Regions from separate parts of the Homo sapiens genome. Here region 1 is linked to region 2. Evidence: promoter capture Hi-C in 16 types of primary human blood cells and fetal thymus (Javierre and others, 2016). All regions are on one chromosome and are shown on one strand. Each heading gives the region's core, a stretch centred on a gene start or on the middle of the fragment in contact. The rest is flanking DNA. Distances are from core to core; before and after follow the strand shown.

Region 1 (5,430 bases), core at 2,783-5,282, 69 kb after region 2:
TTCCTCTCCAGGGCTTGTCAGTGAGACTAATGGCCACTGCTTTTCCTTTCCAGGGCTTGCCAGTGAGACTAATGGCCACTGCTTTTCCTTTCCAGGGCTTGTCAATGAGGCAGATCAGATTCAGGTTCGACGGGCAGCCAATCAATGAAACTGACACTCCAGCACAGGTACGGAGCTGGCTTCGCGTGGTTCCAGGGCGACTTCCGATTTGTGCGGGGTAACTGCCATTTGGGATACGCTTATTTGAGAATTGTAGGTGGGAGCTCATACAGAATGCCTTAATGATATTGATTATTAGATTATTTATTTTTCACATTTTAAATTTAAATTTTCAAATGAGAAAACTGCTTTGCAGACATCATTCTTGCTGTTTGGAGATGGAGCCAAGTGCTGGGCCCGTCCTCACTGTAAGGGAAGCGGGGGTGCAAGGACCACTCAGCGGCCCCTTCCCACTCATTGTCTGGACGCTTGCTGTTGTAGCCCGTGTGCAGCTTAGGGGCCAGCTGGATTCTTGTGCCCTTTAAGCATCTTGCACAAGTGACGTGGGTGGGCAGAATGTGCCATAACCCCTGATTATCAGTCTGCACAGCTCGTTTCTCTCAGGCACATGCAGACATGAATGAGATTTCATCTATCACGTTGCAGGGCATCATACTGTCATGGAAAGAGCTTTGGACCTGGAAACAGACTTTTTTTTTTGAGACGGAGTCTCGCTTTGTTGCCCAGGCTAGAATGCAGTGGCGCAGTCTCAGCTCACTGTGCAAGCTCTGCCTCCTGAGTTCACGCCATTCTCCTGCCTCAGCCTCCCAAGTAGCTGGGACTATAGGTGCCCACCACCACTCCCGGCTAATTTTTTTGTATTTTTAGTAGAGACGGGGTTTCACCATGTTAGCCAGGATGGTCTCGATCTCCTGACCTTGTGATCTGCCCACCTCAGCCCCCCAAAGTGCTGGGATTAAAGGCATGAGCCAACGCGCCCGGCCGAAACAGAGTTTTTTTTTAAACTTGGTTCAAGTTGCAGCTCTTGTCATTTGTCAGCTGATGGCCCCGTGACCAAGCATCACTTCATCTTGTGGAGTCTCAGTTTTGTCTGTCCATAAATGGAACCAATACCTGCTTTTTCTCCCTTTCAATGTTGTGAGAATCCACTGGAATGTTTTATGTGGAAATATTTTTGCAAAACATTTAAGATTTTAAATATTTACTATTCAGTATTTAATAAATATTGAAAACATCTTTGCAACAAGTATCCATTTGTACCTACTTGAGGAAACCTACACACCGCTGAGGCAGTGGCAGCTCTGGGAGTGTTCACCAGGGAGAAGCTGCTGAGAGCAGCTGAGCAGGGAGGGCCTCGTGGAGTCTCTGGGGCTTGACTGGGGGTCAGGGGGCTGGCTGTGGACAGGTGGACCGAGAGGCAGAGGGAGCCCTGCCTGGGGGCTCTCCCTCCAGCCCATAGTGTCGGTGGCAGGGTGAGGGTGGCCGACAGCCCTGATGGGACTCCTTTCCATCTGGGAGCATGACTACTTCCAGCCTTGCTGAGTCTGTGTAGGAACTGGCAGAAGCTTCCTCTTGCTTAGAGGATGGAAGAAGATCAGGGTGGGTGTTTTGCGCCCACTGTGTCAGGAGGAGAGAAGTGAGCGGGGGTGTTTCACTACCTTGCCTGGGCTTTAAATGGGGAGGGGCGGGGAGAAGCTGGCAATGGACCCTCACTTGACGGGCCCTTCTGTGAGCTGGGGGCTTTGGCTTTCATGGCATGGTCCCCCGCACTTGGTATAAAGCGCAAGGCTCCTGTGGGTCCTAGGACTCAGTGCTGCTAATCAGATGTTCTTAATTAGAATCTGATTTTGTGTAATTTTCAGTAAGAATTTTAGACATTTCAGTTTATCTTCTAGACTCAGTTTTTCTCTCAGTTAACATTTTAGCTTTGAATCTGCTTTTGTGAGTTTTGTTAGGGGAAGCTTGTTGAACCGTAAGGGCTGTAGTGAGCATACAGCAATGCCTCTTCCATGCGTGCTGAGCTGCAGTGAGGGGACGGACAAGAGCCAAGGTGTGACCAGGTGATGTCGCTAGTGTCAGGGAACACTCATGCCAGTGAGGATCTTCCCACTCTCTGATGAAAACTAACAGGCTCCCCTCTCTCTCGCTGTGCCTGTTGTGACAACCATGACAGCTGGAGATGGAGGACGAGGACACCATCGACGTGTTCCAGCAGCAGACGGGAGGTGTGCCGGAGAGCAGCCTGGCAGGGCACAGTTTCTAGAGGGCCCGTCCCCAGCCCGGGCCGTCCATCCTCGCATTGCTGTTGAATGGTGAGCACGTGACCATGCCGACCACAAAGGTGTCTGCGGAAACTCGAGGACATTCACCACGATGATTTTCCTCTCTTTGATGTACTTCAAGTGCAACTCAAAACTATATCTGCAGGGATGAATCTGTAACTTAAATTGGGCCAATCAGAATTGTTATCTTTGTTCAGGTAAAATGAGTTGCAAGATATTGTGGGTACTTTTGTGTGCTCATTTGTGTTTTCCCCCCCTCCTACAACATTTTTTTAACCCCAAAATTATAGCCTGAATGTTCGCTTTTAGTCTGGCCAGGGATCTGACTCCTGAGTTGGTTGCCTCTCCCCTGCTCACTCCAGTCACATAGAGAATTGGTGTTTCCCGCAGTGGGGATGCAGCTGTTGGACAGGTATTGGGGGCAAGGTTGGTAGGGAGGACAGACTGTCACTTGCTGTTACAGGCACAGGTGATTAAAATGCTAAATATTGCAAATTTAAGCTTTGTCAGTATATGGAAAAGTTGAAGGGAAAATACTGGAATGCTTCTTCAAAGGTTAAAAAATAACCGAGTCTTTTGGTAATTTGACCCCACGTGCTCTCTGGCCCTCAAGCATGTAACCTCGGGGTCTGAGGCCCAGGACCCACCCCCCTGCCACCCCTCCCACCCCACTCCCTGCTCAGTACCTGGCGTTGGTACACAGGCAAGGATTGGCACAACCAAAATTGGCCTTTTTCTCCCTCTTAATATTGAAGAAATTCCCACATTTCTCATTTGGTAATGGTGTTGTGGCCTCAGATTTCTTCTAGTATTTGCTTCTGATGAATGATTATGGTCTATACATAAAAAAGTAAGACTAAGTATTGCTGAATTTGCAGTTATGTTGTCGTGTATAAGAGCTACTTCCAAGTGTGGTTACAAATGAACCCATGGAATGATGACTTCATGTTCTTCTCGTGGGTTTGTGCCGTGCTGCTTTCCAAATAGGTATTGAATTTATGCATTAGTCTGGTGATTTCAGTTCTGTGAAATATTTTGGGATCTATACCAATTAAACATTTTCATAGTTCTGCCTATTGTCCTTCCCTGAGGCTCCATTGCTGCTTGGTGGCCATTCTCTGCCTTTTTACAGTCACCTGAACAATGACCCATCATCTCTTGCTTGCTTGAAATCTTGCTGAAATGTTCTCATTTCCTGTTTGCTGTATGGGCTCGGGTGGGATGTTTGTTGGCTCTGTTGTGTTTATTCACCAATTTGTACATTATTTGTTGTCCTTTACTACTGTAAACAGTAAATATAGTTTGGTATTCTGTCTCTTGGCTTCTACTAAACACTGCATTTGAAGGTTGGGGCATACTGGTACAATTCAGTGTTTGAATTGACCATTCCAGGCAGCCACTGCACTGAGAAACTTTGATTGAAAAGCTAGCCGCTGGAAGGTTAGTATTCGCCTGGCAGCTCATTTCCCCTCCCCTGGCACATCACCAATGCTAGTCCAGCCTTCTTCCTGCTGAGGGATGCATCCTCTCCTCAGAGACCTCCTGGCTGACAGCTGTCTGAGCTGGCATCACTGTGACATGTTACCCTCCCTCTCCTGGGTTTCGTATGTAAAGAAAGGGTGGATTTTAGAGGCAGGTGAGCTTGGGTGTTAGTCTAGGACATCTCTCGTTTTCTGGTGTTTGAATGTAAGTCAGCTTTCCTTCTGCCATGGACAACTTACCTATCTGCTTTGAAACTGAACTGACATTGATTTGGCTTTAAGAATTTCCCAGTGTGCAGTGGTGTAACAAAACCCAGGTTGAAAATGAGCTGTTTTAGCCCATCAGTTGAATGAACCCAAGGTGAAGAAAGATGGGCAGCTGTGGAGATGGAACACGTGATTCACTTGCACCAGGAAGAGTGCACGGATTAAGGCACAATACAGGATGGGGACATCTGCCAGATTCCCTAGGCAGCCTGGGGCGAAGCGGCTGCCAAAATCAATGAGGAAAGGGATGTGTCCCAGGCACCGTAGGTTAGATAAGAATAATGGCCAGGAGCATATGTGGATGTATTAGGGCAGCGCTGCTTGAACTTCCACCCACAACACCTCACAGCAGAACCAGCAGGATGTCCTGTCTTTCTAAAAAAGATTTGTAGAGATGGAGCTCTCACTATATTGCTGTATTAGTGCATCCTCACATTACTATAAAGAACTACCTGAGACTGGGTAATTTATAAAGAAAAGAGGTTTAATTGACTCATAGTTCTGTAGGCTGTACAGGAAGCATGGCTAGGGAGGCCTCAGGAAACTTATAATCATGGCAGAAGAGGAAGGGCATGGACACAAATCCAAACCATAAATCAGTTGCCCAAGCTGATCTCAGACTCCTGGCCTCAAGTGATCCTCGTGCCTCAGCCTGCCAAGTAGTTGGGATTACAGGCATGAGCCATGGTGCCCAGCAAAGGTATGTTCTTGAAGTTGTCTTTTTTCTGAGATTTATGCAAATGGTGCATTTGGAAAAATAGATCTGTTGGGATTACTATTTTCAACAAGATTACTTATGTGAAACTGACTCCAAGAATCTTTGGGTTAAATTGATGCTCCTGGAGGAGAGAGGCCCTATTTATCCTAGTATCTATGCCTGGGGTCCCAACTGGAACTTCTCCAGTTTTTGCACCGAAAGGTTCACATCCCAGGAACCCCCACTCCCAGGGAACTTGAGTTGTCATCTTAGCCATGCTGCAGGAGTGCCCAGCTGGAAACGCGTGATGTTCATGGGAAAACCCCACCGTATAACATGGGTTAAGCTGTGAGGTCCTTTTTATATTTCAGAACTTTAGTTGCTAAAGATAGAAAGCATTAATTTTATTCTGTACAGTTGGCCTCCCCAGGGTGTGCTGCCCTGCAGTATCACACACTGGCTGCTCAGAGTCCCTGGGACTCCACTACCACTTGATCCAAGTTGAGAGTTCCACGAGTTAGCCAGTTAAAACATAGGATGCCCAGCTAAGCTTGAATTCCACATAAGGTACTGAACGACGTCCCTGAAATGTTGCAGAGAGCCTGGTTCTCTGAAGATAAGGTGTTGTAACAGTCCTGTTGAGGGGAGAGACTGCCATCTTGTTTCAGCAACTCATATTTCAAGTGACTTTTGTCACTTGAAG
Region 2 (5,091 bases), core at 2,197-4,696:
AAAAAAAAAAAGAACAAGTCAGTATGTAAGACAACTGTCTTTGCATCAGTTGGACTCTCAGTGTAGCCCTGAGCATGGCTGTCTGTGTGTATTGTCTGCCTTCCCAAGTAAAGGTAAAGAGAAATCAACACTTTCACACACAGAACTACTGAAGGATGTGCTAATAAGTCCACTACACTAAAGGACTTTGATCGGGGTAGCCAAGAGGATTCTTCCAGTATCAGTGGAAGACTCTGACCATATTTGATCAAGTACTGCCTTTAGTAGGTTTTGTAATTCTTCATTATTCAATAATTCAGTGTCTTCTAGGGCAATTAGGGATCGCAATTGGGTTAGATTTTGAAACTTTTTTTATGTCTAGTAACTCAGCTTTCTCATCTAATTCTAAATACGTCTTCCCCCTTTGGGAGAAAGAAACGTGGATATTGTAATTCTAAGAAGTCTCCTTTTATAAGATGGCTGGCAGCTGATAGAACCAGAAGGAAAATGTGAGTCCCTTGTAAAGGACCTAGTTGAAAAGCTATAGGCTGAGATTTACGTGCCGTTACAGGCGTATTAGTGACACCTACCCTTTGAACTTTTTTTTGACTCCAAGGAATGGAACCTTGTAACAAGATGGGATTTATTACAGAAAACACGGCTGCTCTATCAGCAAAAGCTTATGTCAGCAATGGGAACTCGTGTTAACTATTTTAAATAATTTTTATGGCCAGGCGTGGTGGCTCACGCCTGTAATCCCAGCACTTTGGGAGGCTGAGGCAGGTGGATCACAAGGTCAGGAGTTCAAGACCAACCTGGCCAATATGGTGAAACCCCATTTCTACTAAAAATACAAAAATTAGCCGGGCGTGGTGGTGCGTGCCTGTGGTCTCAGCTGCTCGGGAGGCTGAGGCAGAGGAGTCGCTTGAACCTGGGAGGCGGAGGTTGCAGTGAGCCAAGATTGAGCCATTGCACTCCAGCCTGCGCAACAGAGCGAGACTCCGTCTCAAAAAAAAAAAAATTATTTTTCCCAAAGTAGAGGCAGGGTCACACACTCGGGTATTTAAATTCTCTGGGAAAACCAGTGGGGTCCTGGTGAGCATCAGGAAATTCCTTGATTATACTTTTAAGTTCTACCTTTGACCATAACTCATGAACTAGGGCACATAGTTGTCCCCTATGAGAGACACTGGCTGTTTGAGCAATGGCCCCAAAACAGGAGGAGGAGGAGGAAGAAAGGTGGGTCTGGGCGAGGTAATTCAGACAACAAAGGATAAAGAGAAGGAGCTGAGGGAGGAGGGGGAGAAATTTCAGTAGTCTTTTTTAAATTCAGAAATTATTTTAGATAATTTTTGTTTTTCTCTCATAAATACCTTTATTAGAACTTCTTTTGGATGCTTCCAACTACCATAAAAAATAACTCTCCCAAAGATTCCGTTTTATCCTAGAGCCAGCGTTTTCCAATTGAGCAAACAAGTAAATTACCTTGGTGTTCCAATGGTACCCGGCTTTGGTCACTGAAATGTTTTTTCTCAAGTTACGTGAGACCATTTTTCTAAATATAACGAGAGGTGGCACCATAAGCACTGCACAGGAAACCAGCTGGAGTTTCCAAAGATGGGTCCTCCCTGAAGGAGAAAGACTTGTTTTGGATGGACGATTGCCTATGAGTTCTCTTAAGTGACAAAAGACTGTAAGGGAAAATCTGGTTACTCAAGAAGAAAGTTTAGACATGTCAAATTGAACTCAGCTCCAGAGCCTGGCCAGTTTTAAGGATTACAAATTTTGCTTAAGCCACGATTCGCTGCTTCTTTTCAAAGAGAAACTGCTTTCCCCTTCTCCAAATCTGAAGGACAAAAAAGGTTGCAAACTTTAGCAAGACGAACAAAACCTTAACCTCGAAGGATAGTGTTAACCACACACCTGCAAACAGCTGACTCTTTGGAGAAATAACAAACGAAACTCTTGCCTTAAAACCAAGCCTCAACTCCAGCCCTATCAGGTGTGGACCTGGGTAGGCGGAACAGAGTCTGAACCTCAGCCCTGGGAGGCTGCCAGAGACCCCGGCCAGGTTCCCAGGCGGTCCGGTGAACCAAGGCCGCTCCGCGGGTGCCAGCGCTCCGAGTGCCAGAGAAGTGGCTCGGATCACAAGAGGCTGGCTTCGGAGCCATCTGCAGGCGCCCAAATCCCAACCTAAAATCACCACAGGGTCAGAATCTAATGTAAGGGGGGGTTATTCAAAGGCAGTTGGAGGCTGGCCCACCCGGAAACACCGGCTCCAGAGGAATGGAGTCCGCCCTCGGAAGCGGGGAGGGGAAGGGTGCCCTCGGGCAGGCAGAGGCGGAGGCTTTTAGCAGGACCGCGGCGTCCTTCCTACGAGGTGGGCGCAGTCCTCGCGTTTGATGGACGACGGGCAGTGCCTGCTTCAGGGAAGGGTGCGGCAGTCACGGTTTCCCGTCTTCTGGTCTAAGCAGTGCAGAAAACAGGGAAGTTCATCTACAAGGGTCATGAACTAAGAAGGCAGGAGGTTTCTGTCCCCGGCACCGGCGAATCCCGGACCCGAGAAAGGAGCTACGGGCGCACAGAAGCGGGCGGCCCCGGCTCTCGCGGGGCTTAAAGCGCGCAGTGTGTTCGGGTTCACACCTCTAAATGTATTTTTGCCATTTCTTAAGTAGCCTTAAAAATGTCCGTCACTATTTAGTCCTTTTATCAACCGAGGGGCCCGGAAGGCCGCAGCGAGGGCGTCGGCGAGAAGCCATGGAGGAGAAACGGCGCTTCTCTCGGGAGTTTAGGTGGCAGCTTCAGCAGCACACGTTTCAGCCCATTCTGGGGCCGTTTCTAGTGTGGTTAACGTACAAAAATAAACAAATCCCCTAAAAGTCCCACGCGGACATCGGCGGGAGCCCAGGGCCGGACGCCGCGGTGTGGAGCGAGGGCGCCGGCGCGGACTATGAGGGCCCACCGCGCCTCGTCCAGGGCTCACTTAAGAGCAGCGTGAGCAGCGCTTGGGACCGCCGTCCGGGACGCCCGCAGCCCTTTAGGATGGAGGCCACCGTGACCTCCGCCACCGAAGCACCGCGCTCCCCTAGTCCCCTCAGCCGGTCGCCGTTCCCCGCCGCGCAGGCGCAGGAGCCGCGGCGAGCCCCTCGGTCACGCCTCGCCCCTCGGTCACGCCTCGCCCCTCGGTCACGCCTCGCCCCTCGGTCACGCCTCGCCCCTCGGTCACGCCTCGCCCCTCGGTCACGCCTCGCCCATCCGCGCCGCGCAGGCGCACTGAGCCTCAGCCGCTCTCCTCGCTACCAGGCTCCTTTCCTCTATCGCGCAGGCGCACTGAACCTCAGCCGCGCCGGGAGGCGAGCCCGTTGGCGAGGGGCGGGGCAGATGGCGAGGGAGCGGGGCGAGCTGCTTTTTGAGGCTGCGCACTCGCATGGCCCCACCTCGCAGGTCCACTTCCGGCGCCGCGGCTGTTCCGGGCGGAGACCGCTTGTGCTGGAGTCGGAGTTGTAACGCTCCACTGACTGATAGAGCGACCGGCCGACCATGGCGCCCGGAGTGGCCCGCGGGCCGACGCCGTACTGGAGGTTGCGCCTCGGTGGCGCCGCGCTGCTCCTGCTGCTCATCCCGGTGGCCGCCGCGCAGGAGCCTCCCGGAGCTGGTGAGGGCGCCGGGGCGGGCGGGGCCGCGAAGGGGGCGGGGCGGCTGGTGGGTCCAGGTCGGGGTCGGGGTCGGGGTTTCGGCCAGGGCGCTGGGCTCGGCGGGCGGCCTGGGCCCACGGTCGCAGGCAGCGCCCCGACGGAGGCTCCTCGAGGGTCACGCCCGTTTGGCGGCCGCGGGAGCTGCCGTCGCGGCTGGGGCGCGGGCAGGGGAAGAGCCGTCTTTGTCTTTGTCTTTGTTTTGTCCAGTCGCTGCGGCCGCTCCTCGCGCGTGGCCTCGGGTTGGCCCTCGCCCGGCAGGCGGGACGCTTGGCACCTGCGGCCTCCCTTAGCCTCACTGCGACCCCAAACAGCACTCCTCGGGTTCGATCCCGAGCCGGGAAGCCGGCTCACGACGTGTTCGAGGTCGCACAGCTGGTCGGGGGCAGGCCGGGATGGCGGCCGCAGGCCCCTGCAGGGTGATGGGGCCGCGGCCGGTGTGTCTCTACAGCCGCCGGCGTTCACGCCGCCACTCCCTCCCGGCCGCAGTTCCACGCACAGCAGCGAACGCTCGCACTTATGCCTTAGAAAGGAAGGCGTCCCCAAAGCCAGGCTGTAGCATCTGATTTTGAAGCAAGCTGATTGCGGTTCTACGCTGTCCAGACGCGCAGGTGGCATTCTTCATCGTTTATCCCGTCTGCACCAGGCCCTGCGGCCACAGTGGTGACCGACAGCCAGAGCTCCTATCCAAGAGGAGCTGAGTCCCCGGGAGGCTGACCAAGAAAGAAGCAGTGAGGGCGCGGGGGCTGGGGGAGGAAAGTGCATGACAGGAGACTCAGAGTTCCAGAAACCGGCAGTGTTTATAGAGGGTGGCTTCCTGTGGGGCTGGGCCTCCAGGGCCTGGTGGGCTGCGGGAAAATCCAGCAGGTTCTAAGCTGGAGAGTGTCATGGTTGGACCTGTTTCACAATGTCATGCTGGCTTCCGTGTGTGGAGTTTCCAGGTGACCACTAGTGGTGGGGAATAGTGCCACCTTAACTTCAGTTTCCTGACCCTTACAATTAGGGTTGACCTGGGCCCAGCTTGAGGGGCTAATACTTTTCTCAGCTCTTGTTAGCCCAGGCTCTGTCAGTGTCTGTTTAGCATAGTAGAGCACCTTTTCTTTTTGTGACCTTATGGAATGTTTATTCCGATGCAGGATTATTTGTGTTTCTTCTTACCTGCCTCCAAGTGTGCTTAGGGTTTGTGACGTTAGCAATGCAGCTGCCTTGAAGTTTGTTAGTCAAGGAGGCCAGTGGGACTGTACTGGGAACTTTTGGCCCAGATTGAGTTCTAAGCGCAAATGTGCAGTGAATACGTTTCCACAAACAGAATGGGCGTCTGCAGGCAGAGTGTGTGATTCACTGGCAACTGTATCAGTGGCTCGGGGGTGTGTTTGCTTGCATTGTGAAAGCGGGAGTGTCAGGAAAACAACCATGAGGT

The links. The method cuts DNA at HindIII sites, captures the fragments that hold promoters and counts their contacts. A CHiCAGO score of 5 or more calls a contact.
Region 1: a contact is called between a fragment that was not itself captured here and the fragment with the promoter of PTTG1IP in region 2, in 1 of 17 cell types (naive CD4 T cells). The highest score is 5.0, in naive CD4 T cells.

What each region holds. Positions count from the first base shown.
Region 1 is chr21:44,803,784-44,809,213 of GRCh38, reverse strand. It overlaps SUMO3 (small ubiquitin like modifier 3), which reads left to right. Exons shown (of 4, transcript NM_006936.3): 3 at 96-167; 4 at 2,174-3,597. The coding sequence ends at 2,263. LINC01424 (long intergenic non-protein coding RNA 1424) reads right to left here. Exons shown (of 2, transcript NR_109928.1): 2 at 4,497-5,430. Among named protein-coding and RNA genes, the nearest start is that of LINC01424, 4.3 kb to the right of the region's middle. RefSeq lists a silencer at 1,893-2,046. The HindIII fragment of the contact is 2,494 bases long and covers 2,786-5,279 here.
Region 2 is chr21:44,872,045-44,877,135 of GRCh38, reverse strand. PTTG1IP (PTTG1 interacting protein) reads left to right here and starts at 3,446. Exons shown (of 6, transcript NM_004339.4): 1 at 3,446-3,634. The coding sequence starts at 3,520. RefSeq lists enhancers at 2,489-3,166, 3,324-3,824, 3,825-4,325 and a silencer at 3,083-3,732. The HindIII fragment of the contact is 6,566 bases long and covers 661-5,091 here.